Regions from separate parts of the Homo sapiens genome. Here region 1 is linked to region 2. Evidence: promoter capture Hi-C in human tissues and cell types (Jung and others, 2019). All regions are on one chromosome and are shown on one strand. The core of a region is centred on a gene start or on the middle of the fragment in contact, and the rest is flanking DNA. Distances in the headings are between cores, read along the strand shown. Region 1 overlaps HDAC5 (histone deacetylase 5). Region 2 holds the start of PPY (pancreatic polypeptide).

What was found. Contacts are between HindIII fragments. The study calls those that stand out against the background at their distance.
Region 1: a fragment that was not itself captured here is called in contact with the fragment with the promoter of PPY in region 2 in 2 of the 25 tissues and cell types used here (mesenchymal stem cells and spleen).

Annotation. Positions count from the first base shown.
Region 1 is chr17:44,107,144-44,111,761 of GRCh38, forward strand. HDAC5 (histone deacetylase 5) reads right to left here. Exons shown (of 27, transcript NM_005474.5): 3 at 3,586-3,657. Among named protein-coding and RNA genes, the nearest start is that of HDAC5, 14 kb to the right of the region's middle. The HindIII fragment of the contact is 4,562 bases long and covers 431-4,618 here.
Region 2 is chr17:43,939,703-43,944,123 of GRCh38, forward strand. It overlaps PPY (pancreatic polypeptide), which reads right to left and starts at 2,774. Exons shown (of 4, transcript NM_002722.5): 1 at 2,719-2,774; 2 at 1,762-1,952; 3 at 1,441-1,512; 4 at 1,102-1,250. The coding sequence starts at 1,952. The coding sequence ends at 1,226. The HindIII fragment of the contact is 11,700 bases long and covers 1-4,421 here.

The sequences.
Region 1 (4,618 bases), core at 1,462-3,961, 170 kb after region 2:
GTCTGGCTATGCTGCGCAGGCTGGTCTCAAACTCCTGGCCTGAAGTGATCTTCCTCCCTCAGGCTTCCAAAGTGCTGGGATTACAGGTATGAGCTACCATGTCCAGTAAGTTCCTTAACCTCTCTGAGCCTTCTCAATTATACACCACAGCTATCAACACTGTCCTAAAACAGATATGGCAAGGGCCGGGCGTGGTGGCTCACGCCTGCAATCCCAACACTGTGGGGAGGCTGAGGCAGGCGGATCACGAGGTCAGGAGTTCGAGACCAGCTTGGCCAACATAGTGAAAACCCATCTCTACTAAAAATACAAAAATTAGCCAGGCACGGTGGCGTGTGCCTGTAGTCCCAGCTACTCGGGAGGCTGAGGCAGGAGAATCGCTTGAACCCAGGAGGTGGAGGCTGTGGTGACCCAAGATCGTGCCACTGTACTCCAGCCTGGGCAAAAGAGGGAGACTCCGTATCAAAAAAAAAAAAAAAAAAAAAGGGCAGGGAAAGTACCTGATAGCCTTGTCACTCAGTGCATTATAATAGTTCCACTCTCACCCCTGAGTCTTGCACTTCTTACCCTCCCGGCACTACATACCTATACACACAGCCAAACCCAGAAAGACTGAAGAGCACGAACACGAATATCCAGGGAAAGCCCTAAGACCAAACCTGGACCCCATGGCACTTCCCAGTGTCCATAGCATTCCTTCCTGGCACAAGCAGGATTCACACCCTCCCTCCATGGGAAAAGCAGACTCCTCCTCCATGCCATCTCATAAAGTCCTGCGTATTGTCTGGGCATCAGCTCCACCCAGTACAAGACAAAGGGGAATCCAGGGCCCACATAAGGGAGGCAGAGAATTCCCCACCTCTGTGTCCTTGAGAATCCCATACTAGAGTTCAAACTCCCAGGCTCCCCAAGCCAGAACTAAGCTGGGATGATGGTGGTGCCCACTGTGCACTGGGGAGCTGTGGTAGGGTGGCCAGGCAGAGACCCCATCCATCAAGGAAGACCTCTGATCGCTAAGAGCAGATGCTGAGATCCGCCCCACTCTTTAAGCAAGAACAGCAGACTGCCCCTGTCCTTCGGTAGGCTAAGGCTCTGTCTTACCCGCTGGGGTGACTCACTAAAGCTGTCTCTATTCACCCAGAGGTCCAGGCCCCAGAATAGAGCCCAGGAATCCTGCCAGCAATTCTGGACTCCAGCCCTCCCCATGCGACATTCATTCATCCATGTGCCAGGCACTGTGCTAGGTGCTGGGCAATGGCAACAACCAAGACAGCCCAGAGAGCAAAGGCTATCCCTAAAATAGGGTTCTAAAGATGCTGCTGGAGGTGGCAGGCAGGCACCACCCTCGAAAGACCCTTGCCCCAACCCCTTGGGCTTGGGAGACCTGCGCAACTCACACCATCCAAAGAAGCTTCCCTGGACACCTGCTTTTTCAGCCATAGGATCTTGCATCCTGTCTGGAGACCGATCAAGAGATGGGGAGAGGGGGTGGGGAGGGAAACACCAGGCTGCCTGGGCCCTCATGGCCGTGTTTATCCGGGGTGGATTTTTTTTAACCCAAAGGTTAAAGTGTTTCTATTTGAAACATCTATTTACATTCCAGAGTCCAAAAAAAAAACAAAAAAAAAACAAAAAAAAAACAAGGCTGCCGAGCTCCAGGCCTATATCTGTCCCTAGCCGCGTCACAGACACAGCATCAGAGCTGCGCAGGGGGAACATTCTTAGCCCTCTCCCCGAGCCGCTGAGGTGACTCACGCCTCCCTCCTGCCAGCATGGACCAAGCCACCACTCTGAAGGCCAGCCAGCGTTGGGGGTGGAGTGGGGAGACAGGGATCTGGACAGAGGGGCTGCCTGGGAGTCCATGCAGGGGCAGCCAGGCTTAGGGAGGAGATGAGAGAGCAGGGTCCCAGCCTGCAAGGTTTCTGGGGTACAATCTGGAAGCAGGTGAATGAACAAGCTGAGGAGGAAACTTCCGGCCAACTGCTGGCTGCTGCTGGTAGCAAGGAACAGAGGCGACAGGGCAGGATGGGTGGACCTGATAAGCCAGATGGCGTGGAGCTGTCCCAAGCAGATGCTCTGGGATTATTCTGCCTTCCAAGAGACCACCTTGAGTCCCAGAGGCTGTGGGCTAGGGGCCAGCAGGCAGGGTCTTTAGCTGGACCTGTGGACTCCAGACCAGGATAAGAACCAGCCCTCTGGGTTTATTCCTCATCCCAGGGACCTGTGTAGGGGGCCCCCAGGCATACGCCCCTACCTCAGGGGACTACGTGGGTATCTTGTAGAGCCGGTTCCCAAGGTTACACCCCCATCCCCACCCCAGCCTACAGGGCTGGCCCCAGGGTAATGCCCCTATCCTCGGGGCCTGCATGGATACCCTGCAGGGCTAGTCTTCAGGGTCATGCTCCTACATGAGAAAACTGCATGGGCATCCCTGCCTGGGCAGATGATAAGCCATGTTCCAAAGATTTTTTGAATCTTCCCAAAACATTCATGCTCTGACACATCCAAGTCCCACTGCAACCTTATCCCTGGGCAGCTCAGAGCCAAATCACAGGCACCTGCAGAGGCACACAGTTCCCACTTTCCAATTTGAAGCTTGGGATGCACACCCACATATCCAGAGGCAAGGACTCCCCATTCACACGCACACACACAGACACCCACACTTGAGTGCCAAGCCACTGCCAGGAGGGGCTGAGCAGGCATGGGTCCAGCAGGCCCCTCCCTGGAGGAAGCATCTTGTGGTGCCGGCCTGGTGGGGAGGCTGTGCCAGGAAGGCTTGATGCTGCCAACAGGTTCCTGGGAGTGAGGGAAGGAGCGGCCCAGCTCTGGGGGACCCCACCCCTAGCCAAGAGCCAAAAAAGTTCCTGCTGAGAAGGTGGCAGGATTAGGGGGTCCCGAAGCCCATCTGAGCCAGAGTAACACCTCTTCATCCTCATGAGATGGGAATCAACCCAGACCTGGGGAGAGGAGCGCCATCGGGAGACAGCTAGGGGCTAAGGCAGCCAAGCCCCTCAATATCCAAGCTGCCAGCCTCTGCCTAACTCCATCATGACTGCACCAAGCCTCCCCAAGTGTCTGATTCTCAAGAGACTCCTGGCTGGGGACTTGCGGAAGTCACTGTACTCGATCCTGTAGCCCCAAGAACCAAGCCAGAGGAGCTGGAGTAACCTTTATTCTTGTGGACACCCAGCTACACCTTCTTCCCTTGCCCAAACTTGGGGAGCGGGCAGCATGGAGGCGGGTCACTGACCCACTTCCTCCCCTCTGACCACAGTGCCAACTAGGCCAGGATCCTCCAGTAACCCCCAGCCCCCAGCAGTGGATGCCGACCCTGCCAGAGACTGAAGGGACTGGAAGAGATGCAGCAGAGTACAGCGGAGGGGCACCGGGGAGCAGCAGGCTCTGGGCAGGGAGGGCAGGGGCCTCTCTGAGCAGGGATCCCCCAGCCCTGTGTATTCTCAACAAAACTCTCAAGACAGATCTATGCAGGACCCTATCTGTGCAAGGCTCAGGGCCAGATGCTCAGCCCAGGGACAAGGATGCCAGATGACAGAGGGCAGGCAGGGACATCAAGGCACTTACCTGTCACAGGGATGCTGTGCAGAGAAGTCCGCGGCAGGATTTCCAAGGATGGTTCCCGACCTGACATCCCATCTGCTGAGAAACAGGATTCTGTCTCATAGATGGTCTGCAGCATCTCCACGAGCCCCTGAGCCTTGGGCACCAGCAGCATGCCAGGGAGGGGGCCGCCAGAGGCGGGGAGCAGACCGAAGGGAAGGTGGTCGGGCAGCCCGCACAGCACAGGTTCCCTCAGGCCACTGCCGACGGGACCCACACTGTAGGGAAGTGCCTCATCCGGCCTGGGCACTCCTGGCGGCAGGAGGGGCAGGGAGGCCCTAGAGCTGCAGGCCCAGCTCTGCTCTAGAGGGGCATCCGACCACCAGCCTCTCCCTGGTTCCTGGGAGCTGGGGTATGGCTGAGCACTTGGGACAGGAAGGGGAGCTCAGCGGGCAGGCGGGCTCTGTGTTCCCTCCCAACCCTGGGTGACAGCTCTGGGCCCGGCTCCCTGCTCCTCCTTCCCGAATGAGCCGCCGCCGGCAGCTGGCAGGAGACTGAAATAGCAGTTGGGGGAGGGCCCTGTCTATAAATAGGTGGAGCATGCTCAGGGAGCTGCGGGCGGGCTGCCAGGAGGCCCCATGGGGGGGGAGGCGGTTCTACCCCAGGAGGAAGCGCCAGGCGAGGGGGATGGGAACAGGGGAGGGCCTGCACTCAGGGCCAAGGCCACAGCGCTGGGTGGCCAGAGGCTGGGCTGGGGAAGGGCGCCGGCCAGGGTACCCATGCATCTGGGAGCGGCTCTGGCTGCTACTCTTGGCAAGCAAGCCAGGGGATGGAGACCAAGAAGCCAGACTCAAGCCTCCGTCTTTCTTCTTGCCTTCCAGAACAGGTAAAGGAATTGGAAGGGTCTAGGAGAGGCTGGCACACAGGCACCTTCCCTGGAGTTCTAATAGCCCCATGGAGGTTTGCTTAACTTCTGCCCTCCCACAGAGTTGAGAGGTGCCTCCCCACCCCTTCAACCAGCAGAGAGACCCCTAAACACCTGCTAAATGGCAGCTCC
Region 2 (4,421 bases), core at 1,524-4,023:
TGAGCTGTGATCATGCCACTGTACTCCAGCCTGGGTGACAGAGCAAGATCCTGTCTCCAAAAACAAACAAAAAATCAATCTGAGCCAAGCAGCTGCATCCTCTAGAAGCTCTTTGCCTTTTAGGACCTGTTTCTACTTCCAGGTCATTTGCACACACCAGATGGAGTAGGACTTGAGGGGAAACACAATTGTGTGTCATTTCCATTTCTGTGCAAGGTGCTGAGCCCAGGAAAGTGGACCCCTCATCCTCCAAACCCATAACCCCATCCCTTGAGACCAAGCATGTGGGGGAGGCAGGAGAAGCCTTTCTAGGAACCAGAAACATTCTAGTTCCCTCACTTCTCCCCTTTACACATGCGCGTACACACGCATGCACACGCGCACTGTCCCCACCTATTCAGGGTGCCTGAGAAGGGCCAGGAAAAGATGGGTTCTCTGGGAATCTGGGAAGTCCTCCCTGGGGCAGGATCCAGGTCCTTGTCCTCCCAGGGCTGGAGTGTACAATCTACAGATTCAACTCATGGTGGCTGGAACTCTCAGCTAATCTAGCCTCCTCCCCTTCCACAGCAGCTTGAATACCTCCTGTGCCCAGGACTTCACTACCTCTCAGGGCAGCCCATTCTCTCCAAATTTCTGGACGGCAGCTCAGGCCCCTGGATGCAGCCATGACTGCCATAGCACCAGAATCGTTCTTCCAGGCTGGGCTGTGCCCCTGCCCCCATGCCAAGGGTGCTTTCGTATAAATTTTGGTGCTTCTGCTGCCTAGGCTGCAGTAAGGCACTGGTGAGGGGTGCACTTGGGGAAGGGTTGTCATCAGGCTGTGTCGGGAAGGTCTATGGGTACTGAACTGGGAAGATTCAAGACTGCCACTTCACAGACTTGCTGAAGGACCATCTGCTCAGAGGAGTCCCTGCCTTCCTCTGGCCACCACTTTTCCCTCTGCGAAGGGGAGAGGATGAGTTGAGTGACTCTGATGACCCCCGCCAACGTTCTGGATGATCCCCTTTTCCTCTGCCCTGCCCTGCCCTCCCCTTTCTCTCCCATGCATTTGGCACTTCCTGCTGCCCCCACCAGGGGTCCACAGAGACACAGGACAGGCTGTGGCTTTGACTTGCTTTATTGAGCCTGTGTGGGAGCAGGGAGCAAGCTTTGGCCAGAGCCAAGGGTGCAGAGGGGAGAGCTGGGCTGGCGCTGCTCATGGAGTCGTAGGAGACAGAAGGTGGCATTATAAGTCCAGCGGGCTGAGCTCCCTGTGAGGACAGGGCAGAACATGGCAGTGTAGGGGGTAGGCCTCGTGCCCTCAGGAGGCCTCAGGCTGGCCCTGGGCTCCTGTTCTCCCTCTTCCACCCCCCACTACACCTTTCCAAGCCCTGATTCAGTCCCACCACCCCCATTTCAGCTCCAGGGAGCTGGACAGACAGGGCAGGGAGTCAAACTCACCTGGGGACAGCAGCATGCGGGGACCCCCACTCCGAGAAGGCCAGCGTGTCCTCTTTGTGTCTTTTCCCATACCTGGGAGGGAAGAGGCAGCAGGGGCAAGCACTGTGCCCAGGTGCCAGCCCACCTGTTTCATATCTGCCTGTAGGCACCATCTTGCCCAGGGCACATTGGTCTAGGCCTGTTGAGCACAGATGCCCTGTTTTCCCAAGAGCAGGCCTGGAAGGGGCTGGGGCTGGGGCTGGGGATAGGGTGTGGCCAGGAATGTGGAGTGGGCCCAGGGTCCCAGGGGCTGGGATCTCTCTCCCCAACTGTGGCACACACCTAGGCCTGGTCAGCATGTTGATGTATCTACGGAGATCAGCTGCATACTGGGCCATCTGCTCTGGTGTGGCATTGTCCCCTGGGTACACTGGCTCCAGTGGGGCTCCCTGGGCACCCAGCAGTGGCTGTAGTAACAGAGCCACGCAGGTGGACAGGAGCAGCAGGGAGAGGCAGAGGCGTGCGGCAGCCATCTGAGGAGCAAGCAGAGGGGAGGTGGAGAGCCCGGGCTGCAGATTTTCCCGTGCCCAGGAAGCAGGGCCCAACTATCCAGCCCCTTAGCCCATCATCCATTTCTCCAAGCCTGGGGACAAGGGGGCAGAGCAAAGGGCCACTCCAAGCTGGCCACTCCACCTCCTAGACACTGCTCTGAAGGCACGGACAGCCTGTCCTGTGAGCAGCCCAGCAAGCCAGGGCCTCGCAAGTTAGAAAAGTATAGCAGAGAAAATGGGGATGTGAGTCCTGGAGACACGGGACTCATGACATCCAGGGCCTCATGGCTCCCAGGAGGCAGCAGCTAGTGGGAATAAGGGCATGCCAGGTCACCCACAGGGTGGGGGACACAGAATGAACTCGGGAAGCCAAGGACAGAAATCCATGGCCTTGTGGGTCTGGCCCTCCACCCTGCGATAGAGACACAGATATCGGTCCTGGAGAAGACGCTACTGTCCATGTCGTCCTGCACAGACCAGCAAAGGCACTCACACAGGGACCCCAGTCACTCACAAGGTCACAGTCACACATTCCAGTTCACAGCCATGCACACGAGTGTGCACACACACGTGCAGTCAGCAGACGGCTCTTCTAGCGTGACAGGTCTGTCCAGATGCAGAAAGCAAGACCCAAGCAGGACCTTAGGCCTCCCAAGGCCCCTGGCCCTGCAAAGCACCACCTCCTCTCCATCCCAGGCCCCAGCCTGGGGGAGGCCCCCAGAGCCCCAGGCAGGCTGAGCCCACTTACCCGGAGTCCAGAGTAAATGGGCACTAGACCAAGCGAGCACCTGCCTCAGGCCGGATGGGCCCCTGCCCTCGGCTGGGCCGCTTTATAGTCCTCAGCCCCCCAGAGTCCCCGCCTCCTGTCAGCCTCTCTCACTCCGAAGCCCTCACCCCTCCTCTCACTGTCTCCTCATACTGGCAACGCCAGTACTGAGGCCAGAGACGGGAGGGGGACAGGGCAGTTCTGTGGGTGCCAGACCAGCAGCATAACAGATAAAACTGGACCACAGTAAAAGTCTCCTGTGGGCCCCCATCACTGACACCCCTTCCCTTTGGGCACCAGAGCAGGCTTGGTTCAAGAAAGATGGGGTTCTGGGACTCGAGAGTGACTGAAAGGTTTTGGTCACAGGCCTTGGAACTAGCTCTCCTGCCTCCCAAAGATCAACCCAAATCATCCAACGGATTCTCTTGGGGCAGAAGATTGAGGCTGCAGCTGGAAGACTGAGGCTACAGCCAGAGCCTCCAGGCTGAAGAATGGAAACTCAGGCCATCCTCTGCAGCTTGCAACTAGAACAAGGTGGGAAGAGGGAAGGGGCCTCAGGTCCTCAGGCAAGGTGGAAAGGAGTGGGGTGCCAGGCTTGGAGAAACCCATTTGGTGGGTGCATAGGATGCAGAATGAGAACTCATGTGCCTGGGTTCAGGGGAAATGTTGAGGGGGGTGCCGGTTTCCAGTATCCATTTCCCTCCCCATCTCAGAGCCCCCATTCCAGGGAAGTGCTAAAAACCAGCTTCATTTGTAAAGCCTCACATTTTCCAAAGTGCTGCCAGCTCAGTCACCTCACTAAATCCCCACAACAACCCATTTTACAGATTCAGGATCTGAAATCTGCTCAGAGATGTCAAATCACTGGCCCCAAACCCCACAGCCAGTCAGACCCCAAAATTTAACTCCAAACCTGGACTGTTTTTTTTCCTAAGTGGGGCCGTCAAAGTATTGTTATAATTTCCCACTTTTTGGCTGAGAAACCTGAGGCTCACAGAGGTAAAGACGCTTGCTCAAGATCTCATAGCTACCGAGGTTCCGAATTCTGGCTTAGATTCTCAACCCCACTAATCCATCCCCACCAGAAGCCCCTGAGTCTCCCCTGCCCAGCGTCTCTTCCCAACCCCCAGTCTCCCTCCCCTGCTTAGGCCAAGGAGTGGTAACTGGCTGTGTCTGAATGACACGGTGACACCAAGTACGGAGCTAAGGACTTATGACTGCTGACGTTCTGCTGTCCCAGATCAGTATACCAAGAAGTTGGGAGATGGGGGGGACTGTTGGGGAAGAGGGGACTGGAGGTGAAACTCCAGGGATCTGGCAGGGTGGGCTTAGAGTCAGACAGACCTGGGTCCAAATCCTGGCTCTGCATTGGCTGGCTCTGTGAGCCTGGGAAAGTAATTTCTTTAGCCTCTCTGAGCTTCACTTTTCCTCTCAGTAAAATAGGCTCATCACACCCATCTGAAGATAGGGAGAATAAAGGAAGGCTCAGCAAACATCAGTGTTCTGCCTTGACCCTCTCAATTTTGATTTTGGTTAACAAGAAGAGCAATAATGCTTCACCAGACAACTTACATTCCACAAAGCAAATACGAAAGTCATTCTGTCTCAGCAAGCCCGGGCCTTTCTCTGGACTGAGGTTTTCCACTTGCAAAACAAGGGTGTGAATTGGTGGCTGGTCTCAGCCT